Regions from separate parts of the Homo sapiens genome. Here region 1 is linked to region 2. Evidence: promoter capture Hi-C in 16 types of primary human blood cells and fetal thymus (Javierre and others, 2016). All regions are on one chromosome and are shown on one strand. Each heading gives the region's core, a stretch centred on a gene start or on the middle of the fragment in contact. The rest is flanking DNA. Distances are from core to core; before and after follow the strand shown.

Region 1 (6,060 bases), core at 1,592-4,091, 99 kb before region 2:
TTGGTTGGGAGTGTTTAGGTTTTATCTTTATCACATTTTTAGATCTAAAGAAGGAAATATCATTCACTGTGATGGTTCTTAGAAGCTGTTCCCCAACTCAAGCCCAAGCACAATCCATTCTTACCAGCAGTGGTAAGGCTAGAAAGGAGGAGTAGATGTAGAAGTCTTGAACAATTCCTGCCCCAAAGCTGGAGAACCATGCTTTGTGATCAGGACTATGCGCTCATTTCCCTCCCTTCCTATTTCCCCTCATGTGTACCCATGATAGGCATATGAGTGTGGGCAGAGTGGAATGATGGGGTTTATACTATTCAGTTAGAATTGCAGTCAGCAGAACTGGTCACTCTGTTTGAACAGCTTGCAATAATTATTTCCTTGGGAAGGCTGTTACTAGAACTCTTTACTATTATTTAACTGAAAACATGCAGCATATTTACCCCAGGGAAAATAACTACAAATAATAGTGTACTAAGTACTAATTCATCCCAAAATGTTGGGTCTCATATTTGTAACTTTTTATTTTGTTCATTATTGCAGCAAAATAATTGCACTAATTGCTGTTATATCATGCAGTACTAAGGGTGCTTTATTCATTGGTAGTGCATGTGGGGGTTGGTTGTTATTACTTAGCTCATGTTGCATGTTAATGATGCATGTCTGAAATTTGTTGTGTCCTTCAAGGCATGATGGGTGGCTATCCGCCAGGCCTTCCACCTTTGCAGGGCCCAGTTGATGGCCTTGTTAGCATGGGCAGCATGCAGCCACTTCACCCTGGGGGGCCTCCACCCCACCATCTTCCGCCAGGTGTGCCTGGCCTCCCGGGCATCCCACCACCGGGTAAGAACTTCATCCTCATTCACTCATTAATCTCATCTTCATATTCTCTTTTTCCGCTTTCAACCAGTTGTTCCAGGAGGCACCCGTGGCCCATTGTGGCCAGGCCTTCCCTCCCTGAGAATCCAAAGGTTGTCAGCAGCAGGGCATGTCTTGTGCATTCAGCAGGTGGCCCAGCACTTGTGCCCTTGTGCACCTGGCTGCTGGCAGCAGCACAGCACACATGGCAGAGGCCAGACTCAGCAAACCAAGGGACAAGAGGCATACTCTATCGATAATCACTCAACTAATTTGACATGTCCTTGAAAAGCCAGACAGCCTAGAAGGCTGTGTCCTCTTATCAGTGAATGAAGTTTCCCAAATTGCTAGTTCAGAGTAACATGTAAAAGCATTTTTTGCCCCTGAGTTGCATTTCTCCCTCTGGTGCAATTCTTATCTCACAGGGTATAGAGTATCTGTTCCATCTCCTACTTCTCCTCAAGCAGCCTTTCTAAGGGGATTGCAGAGCTGCTAAGGTAGAACTCTTCAGAAATCTTTCACTCAGTCTGTCTTAGAACAAAAAGCAGGGAGGGAATGCATTTTCACTGAATTAGTGTTCTGTATGTGAGTTCCCTAAGAAGCATGACATGCCAGGTGTAATGGCTCATGCCTGTAATCCCAGCACTTTCAGAGAATGAGGAAGGTGGATCACTTGAGCCCAGGAGTTCAAGACCAGCCTGGGCAACCTGGTGAGACCCCATCTCTATAAAAATTAGCCAGGTGTTAGGCCGGGCACGATGGCTCATGCCTGTAATCCCAGCACTTTGGGAGGCCGAGGTGGGCGGATCACTTGAGGTCAGGAGTTCGAGACCAGCCTGGCCAATATGGTGAAACACCGTCTTTACTAAAAATACAAAAATTAGCTGGGCGTGGTGGCGGGCACCTGTAGTCCCAGCTACTCGAGAGGCTGAGGCAGAAGAATCACTTGAACCTGGGAGGCAGAGGTTGCAGTGAGCCGAGATTGCACCACTACACTCCAGCCTGGGCGACAGCAAGACTCCGTGTCAAAAAAAAAAAAAAAAAAGGAAAAATTAGCCAGGTGTGGTGGCATGTGCCTGTAGTCCCAGCTACTCAGGAGGCTGAGGTGGGAGAATTACCTGAGCCTGGGGAGACTGAGGCTGCAGTGAGTGGTGATCGCACCACTGCACTCCAGCCTGAGCGACAGAATGAGATCCTGTCTCAAAAAAAAAAAAAAAAAAGCCTGACATTAAAGAACAGCCTAGCCTACCCTCCTAGCTGTAGATACTGGTTTGTCTGTCAACAGAAGCTTAGAAGTTCTTTTATATAGAAATATATAAATGGATTCCAGAAATAGCGACATTCATTTTCACTTTAAAATGTGAATTAGCAAGTTGAAAGATTATTTTAAAGAAAACCTAAATGAAAGGAAAATCACATGTTCCCATATTAATTGCCATCATATGCAAAAGAACTCTTAGCTGTAATCTGGATGGAGGGAATGTGACCTTTGGAAGACTCGGAAAGCATTTGGTCCATTACCTACAACATCAGCTAAGGGCCCAACCCAAATGGTAAAATGTGGTTGGAAACTTGTTAAATTTGCTTGTACCAGTGTTGGACCTACCAGTGATAGGGTTTTGCAGGGTACCAAATGATGCTTTGGAGGGTGCACCCAGCAGTGTGCAGAGTGAGCAAACTTGGTGGCCTGGCCTGGAGCCTCCAGCCACACTCTTTGTGAGAGTTGCTTAGAATATGGCCATAATTCCACAGAAGCATTTGCTCCAGGTATTGCCAGAGGAGGAAGTGTTTGTAGGGTTAGGTGCTTCATATGAAAACAGTGGACTGTGTGAATTGCTGTTGCAGCAGGAGTCAGTCATAAGGTAAATGTTCCCATGTGGCAGGTAGACTTGGCCTTAATTTTTTGCCCTCTCACCTTGATACAGGGTATCACTGAGCCAATAAGACCAGGCTGGAGTTTACACCTTCTAGGTGCACTTAGTGGGATCCATGTCTAATGCCAGTACCCTCTAGGTTGCAGATGTCTTTTGGTGGGTGTTGGGACATAGCTGTCTTCCTTTCCACCTTCCTGAAATCCTAAATTCAACTGGAGGGAAGCCCAACACACCTGCTTAGAATTGAGGAGACAGGGCCGGACACAGTGACTCAATCCTGTAATCCCAGCACTTTGTGAGGCTGAGGTGGGAGGATTGCTTTGAGCTCAGCAGTTCAAGACCAGTGGGCAACATGGTGAAACCCCATATCTATTTTATTTAATTAAAAAAGAAGCCAGGAGTCAGGGAAGACCCCCTCTTAGTGCCTACAAATGCACATGTCTGAGCAGGCTTAGAGGAGTAGGGGATTCATTGAGCTCTTTTGGTGACTCAGCTCAGATTCTCACCGGCTGCCCAAGTATGGCATTTGTCAATAGAGGAAGCAGAAGAGTTTGCTGATTTGTGCTGCCCTGCAAAGCAATGATTTACACAGTTTAGGGAGCCACACCGTGTTCTGGAATCTAAGGTGGGTGAGTGTCCCAGGGCACAGGGAGGTGATGGGCACAGAGGTTAATAATATATTGCTGGGGCACCAGCTTACCCACCACAACCTCTTCATTCATTCACGAATAATCATCAGGATCCTACTTTGGTGATCCGGGTGGACTTCTGGGTACTTGGAATATAAAACTCCCTGCTTTTTAAACAGAAGCTTTTTTACTTGTTATTTTCTAACAAATAAGAGGCTCTCTTATGCTTCCTGGAAGTGGCATTTAACAATTCTGAACCTTAGTGCTCGCTTCAGCAGCACATACACTAAAATTGGAACAATATGGAGTTGAGCATGGCACAAGGATGACATGCAAATTCATGAAACAGTTCTGAACTTTAGAATGAGGAGCTGCTTCTGCCTGGACAAAATATTACGATTTTTAATCCGAAGGGACTATACACTATGAAGTTATACCTCCTCTCGATTCTTCTACACAGCCAGCAGGATTTGTTTAAGTTTTCAAGAACAGTTCACCACAGTTTTAGGTTTATTTGATTTTAATGAACTGGGTCCCTTGCCTATTTCTGTATTTTATCAGAATAGCAAATATGCACCCTGAAATCAAAAGAGCCTCTGACACTAAATTTAGGACATCTCATTATTATCAGCTGTGCCTGTGAGACAACAATTGCTCGTGAGCATTCACTGAGGGAAGCTTACAAAATTATTATCAGGGACATAGTACAAATCTAGTAGGGCCATGAAGTCTCTCTGTTCCTTTGTCATTTTGCATATAAAGCAATAGCAACAAGGTTACTTCACTTCAGATGATTCCTTTTCAGAGTGCTACTCTATCAGATGGAAGTGTTCTCTCCCTGCCAGCACTAGTGACTCCAGTTAGAACCAGCTGCTGATGGTCTGGGAGGGGATAGCAAGGCTGTGCCTTCAGCCTTCACAAAGCTCATTTAACTATGCACTTCCACAGCCTCTTCCCTTGTGTCCCTGCTGTCCTAGCACATTGCTTACTGCTGAGCCTGATTCCAGTGCCATTCCTGCTTAAATTAAATACAGGCTTCAGTTGCAGGAGAATGTGTTGTCAGAAGAAAAACACCTTGAATGTAGAGGTATATTCTGACAATAGCTTACCTAGAGAAATACTAGAATTTTATGCAAGGTTCAAATCATTTCTAAGCCATAATTGATGTACATCTGACAGATTGTTCTAGTATTATACTTTAAGTACCTAGAAACAAAACAACTTTCTATTCAAATCCTATTGGGGTGCTTAAGATTCCTAGCCACAAAGATTCAAGGGCAGAGGTACATAGGTTTGAATTATGAATGGCATCATTTCTTATCAGACAGTAGTTTTTCAGTCATTTCAACCCAGAGCCTCTAACTGTGCCATTGCATTCTGAATTATAGGTGTGATGAACCAAGGAGTGGCCCCTATGGTAGGGACTCCAGCACCAGGTGGAAGTCCATATGGACAACAGGTGAGCCTCCCAGTTTGATTTTCTAGGACTTGACAGAATTCGAGTTATCCTTCTCAGAACATGTGCAGAGTCTCTTTTTGCCTCACCATGTGGTCCTGTGCTCTTTCAGGTGGGAGTTTTGGGGCCTCCAGGGCAGCAGGCACCACCTCCATATCCCGGCCCACATCCAGCTGGACCCCCTGTCATACAGCAGCCAACAACACCCATGTTTGTAGCTCCCCCACCAAAGACCCAGCGGCTTCTTCACTCAGAGGCCTACCTGAAATACATTGAAGGACTCAGTGCGGAGTCCAACAGCATTAGCAAGTGGGATCAGACACTGGCAGGTAAGATTCCTTCTAAATAAGCCTTTGTGAAATACATGCTTCCTCAAAGCTGTCTTACTGCTGTTAGCATAGTATATCATACAATAAACACCCCTTTTTCTTATACAATTAAAATAAATTATATATTTCATAAATGGTTTGGAGTTTCTTTGCATGTTTACGTAACACACTGAAAATGGTTTGTTTTGTTTTGTTTTGTTTTTGAGACAGGGTCTCACTCTGTTGCCTAGGCTGGAGTGCAGTGGCGCGATCTTGGCTCACTGCAGTCTCCGCCTTCCAGGTTCAACTGATTCTTCTGCCTCAGCCTCCCCAGTAGCTGGGATTACAGGCACATGCCACCACACCTGGCTAATGTTTATATTTTTAGTAGAGATGGGGTTTCACCATATCAGCCAGGCTGGTCTCAAACTCTTGACCTCAAGTGATCCACCTGCCTCGGCCTCTCAAAGTGCTGGGATTACAGGCGTGAGCCACTGTGCCTGGCCTGAAAATGGTTTTTGGGTTGTTTTTTTTTTTTTGAGACAGTCTCACTCTGTCGCCCAGGCTGGAGTGCAGTGGTACAATCTCGACTTACTGCAACCTCCGACCCCCAGGTTCAAGCGATTCTTGTGTCTTAGCCTCCTGAGCAGCTGGAATTACAGGTGCTCAGCACCACGCCCAGCTAATTTTTTTATCTTTAGTAGAGATGGGGTTTCGCCGTTTTGGCCAGGCTGGTCTCGAACTCCTGACCTCAGGTGATCTATTCACCTCAGCCTCCCAAAGAGCTGGGATTATAGGCATGAGTCACAGCGCCCTGCCTAAAAGTGTTGTTGTGGTTTTTTTTGCCAAATTTCAAAGCCTAGTTTTCTCATAAACATCACTGCCATCTTTTTAAGTACATTGTTTTTTGTTTGTTGTTTTGTTTTGTTTTGTTTTGTTTT
Region 2 (6,499 bases), core at 3,891-6,390:
ACAATAGTCTATCCCAGGTGTCAGCTATTTCTAATCCAGCCTCATCCATCTGGATGGAAACCTAGCTTAAACACCCACAGGCCATTTTTGCTAAACAAAATGCCTTGTGGTGGAGGAAAGCATCTCTGTGGCCACATTTAGTCTAATTTACGGCAAATCTGTCAACTAACATGCTTCTGGCCACAATGCATTCCTAACCAGGGTGACGTTCCTCCATCTTCTAACCTAGGGTCAAACCCCAGCCCACCTCAAAGCTGAGGTCTCCCCTGGTTTGCTGCCTCAAGTTTGGCAGTTGTGGGTTTGCAGGCACAGGTGAAAACCCGATGAGGAACTTACATAGAAGTGAAAATGCAAGAAGTGGGCCAGTACTCTGGGGGTCACGCCAGGGAAGGCAGCCAGGAGCTTCTGGAGGTAGACCTCCAGATCCTTCTCCCTCTTCTCCACCAAGCTTCTTGAGTTTTTCCCAATTATCTTTTTGGGCGGAAGCAGATTTTTATCAATCTTTCTCTCTGCAACGAGCTGTAAAAAAACATAAGCACATCAACCACAGACTAAGAGGCTCTGTGCCTATGTAAGACCAAGGCAAGAAGCTTGAGGGCAGGCGCTTGTCAGCACTTGCACAGCCCCTCCCTGCAGTAGTACCAAAATCAGTGACCAAACTAGTGCACCTGGGATTTGGCCTCTTTAAATCCAATTAGCATTAGAAATACCAATACAATTCTAGACAAGGAATTCCATCTGGAGACTTTAGAGACATTCAGAAAAGTAACACCTTTTGCCCCTAAAATTGCCATCTTTTCCAAGCCAGAGTAAAAACCAATCAGGGCAGCGGTGTGTCTTTAAAACAGTTATGCTGCAAATGACCCAGAGAAAGACAGCATCTCCAAAAGCAAAAAAAAGAGATGGAATCACAGCCAGATATTAAAGTAAGGCTTTGGAATAGCTATCGCTAGATCAAACAAGTTCAAACCTGTCCCCTTCCCAGGAAACTGTCTGAGCATCTCATACCCAAGCTAGGACTGGAAATATTAAAACTGAAATTCAAATATGCTCCTTGCAGAGTGGCTCATGCTAGAGCTGAAGGCTAGCATTTACATGCTATATTAATGAACGCAGTTATATTAACAAAGTGGTTTATTAAAGAACTATAGAGATGGAACCTGTTTTGCCCTAAAACTAATATGTGGCACAATGGAAAGTTGGCCTACGGGTCCCCCAGCCCTGAGATACGTGCTCCCAGCTCTTAACAGTTACCTTTTCATGCAGGTCATGGAAGTCGCTGTAGCGGTGCTTTACTGTCCACTCATGGCTGCCATCAGTGACCTGGATGATGTAAACCTAAAAGGGGAAACCAACAGCCCTTGTGGCAAGGGAGCCCAGCAACAAGGAGTCTCCTCCCCCAGCAGCAAAAGCTGCAATTATCTTTCCCAATTATCTTTTATCAGTCTTTCTCTCTGCAACTCAGACCCACCCCAAGGCCAAAGTCAGGCTGCCCTTGCCCACCAGCCTCTGCACCTGACCCTTGCTGACCAGCAGGGCCCCTCTCAGCTTCCTCCATGGCCCAAGCACTAGGGCTGGGAGGCACATGAGACAAGCATGTGGCTCCATCCATCAGTAAGGAATGAAAAAGGTGATTACCACAAGTCACCTCTTTAGTTTTTTACCTCCTGCCTCTAGGTAACTCAAAACCCAACCGGAGCTGCAGGCAAGGCCATTTCTTCCAAGGGAGGCAGAGCAGGGCCAGTTCTAGCCTGAGCATCTTCTCTGTTGTACTTCTTTCCAGGTGCCCTGACTACCTCCTGGAAGCAAGTCATTTTCCAACCCTTTCAACTGGTTCATGGCTGTGATTTCTGCTGCTGAGCCAGGAATCAAGGCACAAGCAGCTGATGTGGGGAGGGAGTGGTAGCAACTAAGCTCTATCAGGAGGCAATATGGCCTAGAGGTTAAGGAAGGCCTGGGTTAAAAACCTGGTTCTGCCATTTCCTGGCTGCAGCTTATGTGTCACTTATATAAGTAACTTGGAGCCTAAGTTCTCTCTGAGCCTTAGTTCCTCCATCTTAGAATCAAGGACCAAGTAAGGCAATGCATGTAAAATGCTTTGTACATGGGCCTGACCCATGGCAAGTGTTCAAAAGGTAGGTGTGTTAATAATGTCCAACTCGGCACACCCGGAGACAGAGGATGGTAGGGTCCAAACTAGATCACCACCTCCCCCGACATACATGCAGAGGAGGGGCGCAGTCCAGAATAGGGTGAGCTTTTTGAAGATGGCCCTCTGGCTGAATGTGCCCATAGCTGATGGCCAGTCAGCCATCAGCTTAGAGACCTCACCCGCCTCCTGCACCTAGTTTCCCCCTCCTCTCTGCAGCATGGAGCTGAAGCCTCCTCCAGCCCTGAGGAGCAGCCATTTCTCCAGGCTGGCCTGTTGCTTCAAGATCCACCCCTCTCCTCTTCCCATCCTGCCTGATTCCTTCCCCTTGCCTTCAGGAAAGGAGAAAAGAGCCAGAAGAATGGCCCTCAGAGCGGAAGGTTAGGATGAGGGCCAGGGAGGGGAGGTGCAGGCAGGCCCAAGGCCCCCACCCACTCCCTACCCTGCGGGAACAAAGGGGAGGAGGCAGGGAGGTGCTCTATGCCTAGTCCAGGGCCGGTTTTTGCCAGGCAGCCCACCAGGCTCACAGGCCTGGCATCCAACCCCGTCAAAGTCGGGAACTACCCGCTATTTGTCCTCTGTCTCCCCCATAGCTTAGAAGTGTGTGTGGGCAGCTTGTTGCCCCATCTCGCTCCCACAGCCCAAAGTCACGAAGATTCCTAAGGCTTATAGGGCCTGCGCTTTAGCACTGAGACCACCCCCATTTCTCCATAGATGGGCTCCACCCCTCCTCCGGTCTTGTCTCCGCCCGACCCCCAAGGCATCTGCTCCCCAGGTCTCTCCTGCACTTCTCAGAGAAAATCTCAACCACCACCTCAGGCTCCCCAGATCAGGGTCCTGACGCCTTCTCTTTCTTCAAGGCCTGCGAAGCCTGACCCTTTTCCCTGATTCCATCCATCAGAGACCCTCTCCCCATCGCCTTCCTCCTGGACCCCTGTAACGGTCTTCCAGGCCGGGGCCCCTCCAGTCCTAGAGGATCTAGAGGGGTTCCGCCTCATCTAGACACCCCCCTCCCCAAGCCCCCTTTATCCCCAGATGCCGCCCCCAACCCGAGCCTCCCTTTCTGATCGCGTACCCTTTTCCAAACCGCCTCCCCGGGCCCCGAGCAACCCTTCTCCCGGACCTGCGGGGCCCAGATCCCTTTCCTAGATCCCCCGTCCCAGCCCCCTCCTCGCAATCGCAGACCCTTCTACCCGCTCCTCGGGGCTGCAGATCCCGGACCCCTCCCCAAGCCCCCGAGTCGGACTCCCGGTTCCAGCCACCACCCCCGCTTCGGGTGCCCGCGCCCCCAACACACCGTATAAGTGTCCACAAGCTCCGAGCCCACGACGCGCGCTTCCTTGGCCGGCTCGGCTTCCCGCTCGGGCCCGAAGGTGCGCGCGGTCGCCATGTTCGGGTCTCCGCCGCCACCGCCGCCCGGCGCAGACTAGCAGCAGCAGGGGGCGGGGTCAACGTCCCACCGCCCCCCGGCCCCCGCCGCCCGTCGCCCCCGCCGCGCGCTGCGCCGCCATCTTGGCCCCGCCTTCTTCCTGCGCCCTCGCCCCGCCCCCGCGCGTGACTGACAGGGGCCACTCAGGGCGCGCGTGCGAGGTGCTCGCTTGCGTAATCTACCTGCGTGGCGCCGCCGGCGGTACCCTGCACAGCCTGCTAGAAACTGAGACCCCGGGTGGTGACAGCTCTGGGCATCGCCCCTGGGTCCTCGGGAAGAGGGGACAGAAGGTCCCGAGTCTCCCAGGCCACACGAAGCAAGTCACTGCTCTTCCTGGCCTCAGTTTACTCCTCCTGATAAAGGAGGCCATAATAGTGCCTCACCTGGCTGTTGGGCTCTTTCTCTTTAGGGCAAGGCAGGTTGGAGGGGAAAATAGGACCTGTGCTTACCGCCGGAGCAGGGCGAGAGTGATTCTGGGCCAGTTCTGAACCTCTCTGAGATTCGGAGATCTCTTGTCAGTGGGGCTTCTGGACAACTGAGTGGGTTGATTGATGCGCGGCCCAGCACGCAGTAGTGCTCGAGGCAGGGAGCGTGTTTATCAAGAGGGATAAACTTGATACGAACTCTGTACGAAGGAAGGTGTAGGTGGATGGAGGGGTGTGTGCTGCCACTGAGCACAAGAACCCCACGGGGTGGCCTGCCAAAGTTCAAAACGAGGGAGACAGGTTGATCTGGACCCAGGAACTACAGTGCTGAATCCTAAACCGGGGAAAGATGAGACCTAGAAGAGGGAGGTGGTAACCTAATTGGAGGGTGAGGAGGGAAAGAGCCTGCCACAGATGGGGCATCTATAGGGGTGCTGTTGAATAACTGAGAGCAGCTGACTTAAGCCCGAAGTGGGTACTTCTCCCTGGGCAGATGGGAGGTCTGGGACAGGCTCCTCTGGCAGAAGGGCTCCTGGCCACCCTGTCCTAAGGTGGGTCAGTCACTTCCTCCTTCACCAGTTCCACAGCATCTTACTATGAGCTTGGCATTCGAGGCTTCTCTTGGCAGGGCCCTGCACTCCTAGCCTCTCCTTGCACATTGCACCCCCATTCCAGAGAGGTTTAGTTAAAGGCGGGGGTTACCAAGTCAGTCAGATCTTGGGCAAGTCACCACTCCTCCAGAGCCTCAGTTTCCTTATCTGGAAAGTGGAGGTCATGGCAACCCGCCAACCTGGTTGGATGGGAGCCTGAGCTGTTGTGTTGCACCTTGCCTGGGGCCCACGACTTTGTAGCTCCTGTCCTGCACTGGGCTTATGTTTTCATTCATTCCAGAAACCTTTTCAGAGAGTCCCTTTGGGGAGTGTGGGGGACAGGAGGGAAAGAAACCTGGTCCTTGTAGCCGTTCGTCTGCTCCCTGCCCTGGGCAGAGGACGTGGGGACTCAGGCCAGCCTGAGATCACTGGGACCAGAGGAGGGGCTGGAGGATACTACACGCAGGGGTGGGCTGGGCTGGGCTGGGCTGGGCCAGGAATGCAGCGGGGCAGGGCTATTTAAGTCAAGGGCCGGCTGGCAACCCCAGCAAGCTGTCCTGTGAGCCGCCAGCATGGATGACATCTACAAGGCTGCGGTGAGGGACAGGGCTGGGTAGGGCTGGGGTGGGCAGGCCCACTGGGGGCTCACTCAGCTGAGAGTGCGGGGTTAGTAGCCCCAGGGAAGTGGTGGGGACCAAGGAGAAGGCCTACGTGCCTTCAACCCAGGCCCTCACAGGGACAGTGATTCTGGTGTTTGAGGATGCAGAAGGGGTAGGGGGTTCCGGGTCTGAAGGGTGGTGGAGGAGGTTGCAGCTTTCAGCATCGTGTCTCACTCTCTGTTTCCAAGTGTCTGTGGTCTGTGGCACTGTCGCTCAGCCACATGTCTCTGCATTTGTCTCTGGACGTTTTTGCCTTTCTCTTTTCATCTCTTCCTCCTGAGCTGTCTGAGTCCCCATTACTGTCTCCCTGTCCCCAACCCCCATTTCTGCCCCTCACATTCTGCTTCTCACATGCTCAAAATCTGCCACCCCACTCCAGCCCCTTGGCGGGCCGAAGATGCTTTGGAGGGTGGAGGGTGTGAGAGGAGGGGTCTGTAGAGCCTGAGTCCTGGGCTGGAGATGGGGCTTTGAAGTTTGAGGCAGGGAAGTTCTGGACATGAGGGAGAACCAAGGAAGAAGGAACAGAGAACTGGGGCCCCAGCTCCCATCATGCCTGGCAGGCTCAGGGCTCAGTGGCTTAGCTAGGGGTGAGAGCGAGGGAATGAGGGCTGGAGAGTGGTCACCCCAAGCCCCTGCAACCTCCTGGGTCACTGAGGGTCTTCAGATGCTATTCTATCCTGGGTGGTGGTGACCTCCCCCAACCCCAGAGCAAGGACATCCTGGCATGGCCAGCTGTCCCCAGGGGAACCCCTCCCTCAGCCTCCCTCACTCCTGGGCAGGGAAGTGCTATAGCCAGCTCTGGGGGCACGCCTGCTTATCCTGTGGGAGTCCATGGAGCCGGGGTTGGGACAGCCCTCCACCCAGTGCCCATACAAGGCCTGGCGGAGTTGGGGACTAATTTTGGCTTCTGAGGCGGCACTAGCAGGCCAGGGGGCCAGATAACGCTGCCCCACCCCCTGCATGCCAAAGTCCCCAGAACAATCACCAGGTTTAACTTTGTTCCTCGTTAAAAATAGCCCAGTGGCCACCCTGGTCAGGTTACCGTGGGTGGCTTGCCTGCCTCCACACTGGTTTTATTATCCCAACTTGAGGGACAGCTGTCCTTCGGGCCACCCAGCTTGAGTTTCATCAGGGGCCGAAAGGGCATTGAGTGGTCACTGACTATTGTTACTGAGGGTCACCTTGGTCCTGAAGGGGGTGCCCACCTGTCACCCTGGCCCTGAGCCCAGTCGCAGTGAGGCCAGCTG

Evidence for each region. Contacts are between HindIII fragments. The CHiCAGO score rates a contact against its expected background, and 5 or more counts as called.
Region 1: a contact is called between a fragment that was not itself captured here and the fragment with the promoter of TNNC1 in region 2, in 3 of 17 cell types (M0 macrophages, M2 macrophages and M1 macrophages). The highest score is 6.5, in M0 macrophages.

Annotation. Positions count from the first base shown.
Region 1 is chr3:52,549,501-52,555,560 of GRCh38, reverse strand. PBRM1 (polybromo 1) reads left to right here. Exons shown (of 32, transcript NM_001405607.1): 29 at 682-837; 30 at 4,744-4,814; 31 at 4,924-5,140. It also overlaps the pseudogene RNU6-856P. Among named protein-coding and RNA genes, the nearest start is that of UQCC5, 16 kb to the right of the region's middle. The HindIII fragment of the contact is 1,397 bases long and covers 2,143-3,539 here.
Region 2 is chr3:52,452,682-52,459,180 of GRCh38, reverse strand. TNNC1 (troponin C1, slow skeletal and cardiac type) reads left to right here and starts at 5,140. Exons shown (of 6, transcript NM_003280.3): 1 at 5,140-5,189. The coding sequence starts at 5,166. NISCH (nischarin) reads right to left here and starts at 3,577. Exons shown (of 21, transcript NM_007184.4): 1 at 3,447-3,577; 2 at 1,255-1,338; 3 at 337-519. The coding sequence starts at 3,539. RefSeq lists enhancers at 1,923-2,598, 6,278-6,499 and a silencer at 3,423-3,652. The HindIII fragment of the contact is 13,067 bases long and covers 593-6,499 here.